2 separate regions of the Homo sapiens genome follow, and region 1 is linked to region 2. Evidence: promoter capture Hi-C in human tissues and cell types (Jung and others, 2019). All regions are on one chromosome and are shown on one strand. The core of a region is centred on a gene start or on the middle of the fragment in contact, and the rest is flanking DNA. Distances in the headings are between cores, read along the strand shown.

Evidence for each region. The method cuts DNA at HindIII sites, captures the fragments that hold promoters and counts their contacts. A contact is called where the count stands out against the background at its distance.
Region 1: a fragment that was not itself captured here is called in contact with the fragment with the promoter of CASR in region 2 in 1 of the 25 tissues and cell types used here (psoas muscle).

What each region holds. Positions count from the first base shown.
Region 1 is chr3:122,146,523-122,149,262 of GRCh38, forward strand. No RefSeq gene overlaps it. Among named protein-coding and RNA genes, the nearest start is that of CASR, 36 kb to the right of the region's middle. The HindIII fragment of the contact is 3,748 bases long and covers 1-2,740 here.
Region 2 is chr3:122,181,957-122,185,160 of GRCh38, forward strand. It overlaps CASR (calcium sensing receptor), which reads left to right and starts at 1,712. Exons shown (of 7, transcript NM_000388.4): 1 at 1,712-1,856. The HindIII fragment of the contact is 3,508 bases long and covers 1-2,916 here.

The sequences.
Region 1 (2,740 bases), core at 8-2,507, 36 kb before region 2:
AGAAAAGCATAGGGTGCTATGAGAGAGTGGGTGTTGGAACTTCCACTGTGCTGAGCTGATCTCCATGACAGCTTGCATCATACTGTATTCTAATTTTCCGATCCCTGTGGCTTTCATACCATGGGCCCCACACATTGTTTGTCTGACACCAGTTTCCCCAGAGCCATCTTCCCTGACAGGGCCAGACTCCAGGTTTGACTATGCCTGCCTCTCTCTTGCTGCTCTGCTGACTTAGCATAGCATGAGTCACTCTTGCTCTGAGAAACAAAGTTCTGAGAAAACTGAGCCAACAAACAGGTGACAGAAAAATAAAACTCCTAGCGTAAGGGATTTGGAGCACGTAGGGGTGGAAAAATCACTCTGGAGTTGTCAGATGAACCTGATCCAGATAAATACTCTGGGCTTGGATGAACAATCAGATAGCAAACTAAATAAAAGTGCATTTTGAGTACTGTTTGAAACAGTGATGTGTAAATACCTTCTATACCTTGAGAAAGGCCCTCATAGTAACAATGGAGATGTTGTCACAGAACCAAACTATAATATTTGGACTATGAAAAAAACAGAAGATAGAACATTGGAGCCAATGAATCCACATTTTCCCTGTCACTGCCATCTGGAAAATCAGCCATTATACCCTCAGGGTTTCAAGATCTTAGAAGAAACCCTGAAAAGGCAGGAACGGGCCTCCCACTGTCTTCCTTGCACTTGAGGCCTGGCATCTACAGCCAACTCTCTGCTCCACCAGCTGTATAATGTTAGGCAGGTGGTTTACCTCATTGTCTCTGCCTCAGTTTTCTCACGTGTAAAATGTGAATAAATAATGGGCCTCCTAGAGTCTTTTTGAGTGCTTAATACATGATGGGCATTATAATTTTATAATGTATAATTTTTTCAGCACTGAGCCTGTCAATATGTTCTGCAAATTGCCACCTCAGACTTGGAGGCATTCCAAGACAGCCAAGCTCAGCTAAGGCCTCCAGGAATGGAAAGGAAATAAGTTCCTCCATTTACCTAGCCCAAGTTCCTTGCTGGACCTATTGACCTTCCACCTTCCTAGGTAGAGAGCAATTTGGATATTCTTTGTTTAAATAAATAAATAAGTACTAAGTAATACTTATGAGTATTTTCTTAGACATGTTCAGCAAAAAGGAAAACTCATGCTGGCTGTAGAGGCTTCACTACCAACTGCTCAGCACACAAGTTTGCATGGCATTAGCTTTCCCTAGCAGGCCACCAACCTGGCACCAGGCCCCACACTCAAATCTGGAGCTCTCTTTCCTGACCAGAGCTCTATCCCATGCTCTGATGGTCTGAGTCAGCTCACATGTTTTGCCTCTCCCAATTGAGCTGCAGAAATTCTCTCTTCTATTCTGTTACCTGCTTCACCTCCCCAGCCACAATATGCCAAATCATGAACTGTCCGATGATGGGGTGGTGCCTGCCTGCAGGGCCACTACCTCTGGCTGTCTCCCTGAGTGTTTACTGCTAATTTAAGCTCTGCAGGGGAACTCTGTTCACAGGGACATGGCCCCTGGGGTGAAAGAGGTCTCACTCTGACTCGCACTCAGTCCCAAACCAGGCTGTGACAAGGAATAAACAGGGATTCTCAGGGAAGAAGAGAGACATTCTTCAGGCTTTTCTACCTGAAAGGGTAAGCTTCATCCTAGAAAAGGCTAGAAAATGTGATGGACTCAATCAACAGATCTTCTAAAATCCAAGGACATTTGCTTTCTACCACAAAGAAAAATGAGGGTGGAATTTTTCTTCTCAAATGTGCCTAAGCCACTATTTGGAAAGGAAGTTTGATATTTGCAACTACGGTTTTCTCAATAATCAGTTAGCAACAATTTTAAAAATCAAGAATTGAGACAGAAATAAACAGTCAGAAATGAGCTTGGTACATCACAGTTGAAGTCAACACTGTGACAGTAAAATAGTTAATCCTGGGTTCACAGCTGTGGGATAATTCAGAAAAAAAAAATGTTTTTTCTATTTTTCTATTTGCTGAGTGCTAAAGACTAGGTTCTCTCTCTAATCCCAGGCCACTTTATCCTAATAAATAAGGAAGTTGTGCTTATTAACAGGAGCTTAATAAGATTGCAGCCCCTTTAAATATCCTGAAGACACTGGCGGCTCTCCTCTCCAGCAGCAAACTGTGGTGGGCATCTTAAGGTCATTTCCTGTCCTGTCCTTGACCACTGGCTGCAGCCTGTGGACATGGCTGACCAGGGCACAGGGCCACAAGACTCATCTTTCTTCCAGCACGTGGATATGAGGGCAGCATCATTTCGCAGAAAAGCAAATACAATTTTGTTTTATTTTGTCTAATATGGTTCTGGCACAACACAAGCTGTCCCTATTCTAAGGCTGGAGAATTTGATTTCCTCTCTGGCCTGTGGAAATGGGCTCAGCATATAGCCCTATTTAATCACAGAATGTTAACACTAATCTGACTAAGATGGCTGACTTGAGGTGCTCCCCAGGCTGCAGCAAACAGTGCTAATCCTTCTAGCTGAACCTGGGCCCAACTTCAGAGAACAGAGCGGTTGGCTGTTTAATCACTCATGAAGGCATGACTGATTGAAACCATCATATACTTCCCCAGCTCAAAATGCATATGATTTTTTTCACTGGGAGGAAAAAACACATTACTATTTTGACAGTTGGCACCAGAATCCCACTGAGGGGAGAGAACAGTGAGTTCTAGCAACAGTAATGTACATTCATTCTGATACTC
Region 2 (3,204 bases), core at 462-2,961:
AATGGAAACCACATCACTTTGTCAGTGGAAAACTATGTCAATTGGAACTTAACTGCATAAGGAATAATAACAGATGGAAGAGAAAACAATGATATTAAATTCTACTTAGGAGCTGTTGCCTAGCAAAGGTTCTGAGTGAGAGGCAACCTCTGTCTTTGTTAAAACAGGAGATTAGCAAGTGTTACAGAGGGGTGCAAAGACAAATACTACAAAAATGATACTCCTTCCTTGACATAATCCATAGGAACAAAAGAAGTAAAAAGGGCATATCTTTTTTCACCTTGTGATCCACTGTTATCTAATTGTATTGTCTGTGTACCACCCAATACCATGCTTCCAATCTCTACTGGAAGATGTACACACTGGGACACACTGGTAAAGTGATCAAGCACCAGGACTGTAAGTCAAGCTGATCAGGTTCAGCTCTTGGCTCTGCCAACTCCTAGCCACCCAACCCTAAATACCTGAAACTGTATGCATCAGTTTCTTCGTCTTTAAAATGGAAGCAATAATAGATCTTCAGAGTAATACTTTCTTAAAGATAGTGCCCAAATTTGGACATTATGCCCAGGTGTAATCCGACCAGTGAAGAGCATCAGTTCAGCCTAAGATTGCAGCCTCATTCGGGTTTTGAACTGAACTCGTTCAGCCTTTGGGTGTTCACAAAGCTGTGCTTGTAGCCAACTAAAATAAAATCTAAGGTATTTTGATAGGCACCACTACTGAGCCACATCCTCCATTACTTACATTGCTGGGTGTTTCGGCCTGAGGGAGGACTTCACATTTATTCCTATTAACCAGATTTTGCCCCCTTCACTGGTGCTTTAGCATTTGCTCAGCTCCTTCTCCTACCCTGTATTTGAGGGAAAGGAAGCCAAATGGGCAGAACTTGGCCATAATGAGGATGTGTTTGACATGCTGGATTTGAGTCTGTGTTCCATTGAAGAAAAGAAATGGAAACTTTGTTGAGTATCCATTCTATACAGGGCACTTTCCTTGACTATTTCATTTAACACTCCAAGGACCCCCTGAGGTAGATGTTATCGCCATTTTGCAGAGAAGAAATCTGCATTTTTATTTGAAGTTCTTAAACATGGTAAACGACCCAATTTTCTGCTTTTTGCTTAACAGTATTTTGCAAACATTTTATCATGTTACTTCATGTTTTCCTATTTTTTTTTTGCTTTATAAATAAATACATACTCCCTCCTTATTCTAAAAAGAATTTGAAGCACTTCTGTCTTGATGTTTATCATTTTAATGGTTGTATAATGTCCCATTAAGTCACCCTAATTTATTCAACAAATTTCCTACTGTTGACAGTTTGGCTCTGTTTGCTTTTTGTGGTTTTTAAAATTATTTTCTGTAACAAATGATCCTGCTAAAAAAAAAATCTCCGCACGAATATTATTTTGTTCTGGAAATTTCCGCAAGGGTGGAATACTGCATTAAAGGGGATAATATTTTTGGTGTTTCTTTATAGAGCCTAGCAAATTGCCCACCCAAAGGAGTATGCTTTATTTGAGAGTAAAAAGCCAAAAACAAACAAACACATACAAAAAAACTGGTTTTCTACAAAAGAAATTAATTTTCCACTTATTCATAAAATATTCTAGTGCTGTGATGGGTGGCAGGCACCGTGCCAGGGGCTAGGGACAAGGATAAGCAAGGCCAGGTCCGGGCCTCCAAGCAGCGCGCTGTGGAGTCGGGTAGAGTAGACCAAGTGCAACAGGCACCTGGCTGCAGCCAGGAAGGACCGCACGCCCTTTCGCGCAGGAGAGTGGAAGGAGGGAGCTGTTTGCCAGCACCGAGGTCTTGCGGCACAGGCAACGCTTGACCTGAGTCTTGCAGAATGAGTAAGAGTTTGGGCACGCGATTTGTATTTATTTTACTGTGAATCTCTGGCCTTATATCAGAAAAAAAAAAATTGTGCCACCCTCGGCACAGAGAACGTTGGTGGCGTCGTAAGCGCCCTAAGCTTCTTTCCATCGCCAAGGAGTAGGGGTCAGGGAAGAGGACAGCGGGAACAGGATTTGAGAGCCGGGAACCCCTGGCTCGGCACGGGAGAGGGCAGGAGAGGACCTAAGCGCGGGGCTCGCCGTCTGCTGGGGACCCGAGCCGGCCTGTGGCCCTCGGGGAACCGAAGACGCGCCCTCAGCGACCCTGAAGAGTCAGCTAAGCTCTCTGCGGGCTAAGGAGACGGTGAAGGAACCGGGACTAACTGGGGTAGGGGTTAGAAGGCAGCCCGCGAGTGGGCTACGAGGGGAGCTGGGCTCGGCAGTTGGGGACCCCGAGGGGGCAAGCGGGCGGGGAGCAGGAGAGGGGCGGAGCTCCGGGGCCGGGGCCGGGGCCGCAGCGGCCGCCCAGAGGGTCTGCGGGGGCTGCTGTGGCCGGACCCGAAGGCGGGCGCCGGGAGCGCAGCGAGCCAGACGCGCCTCTCCAAGACCGTGACCTTGGCATAGGGAGCGGGGCTGCGCGCAGTCCTGAGATCAGACCAGAGCTCATCCTCGTGGAGACCCACGGCCGAGGGGCCGGAGCTGCCTCTGTGCGAGGGAGCCCTGGCCGCGGCGCAGGTAGGACCGGGGAACCCAAGGAGGGCGGGAGGAAAGCGCCCCTGGTGGGGGAGGGGCCGTGGCGGGGTCTGGGGGCCAAGGGCTCCGGGCCGAACGAGGGGCACACGCCGGAGCAGCTCCAGCCTGGGAGCATTGGGCGTGAACGTGGGGGAAAGTAGGGACCAGATTACAGGATCAAGGCTTTCCCCGGCTCAGAACTGGATTGTTCAGTGCCCCTAGAAGGGGCAGCGGGTCGCCCACGCGAATGAACGGGAGCGCGCACCAAAACGCCTGCTGTTGGTAGTTTCTTGTGCCTCTGCCTTGTTTCTGCCTGTGATATAGTCAGAAAGGACTCGCTTGCCACGTGTTAACAAGGGGACAGGTAGCTTTTACAGAGTGTATGAATATGGAGGGGAGGGCCACAGAGTCAGCTCTGGCCCCAGGGGCCGTCAGTGCCCCCACAGGATTCCTGGTCCAAGCTACCAGCTGTCTTGGGAACTTTGCTTCAGTGGCATCAAATTAGATTGTCAGTTCCCGGGGCCTGAGCACCAGCCTCCATGTGTATTTCCTGGGGAGAAAAAAAAAAGGCATACCAGACTGATGGAGTCTTATCATTATTTTAACATTATAGCTTTCAATAGATAACATGCAT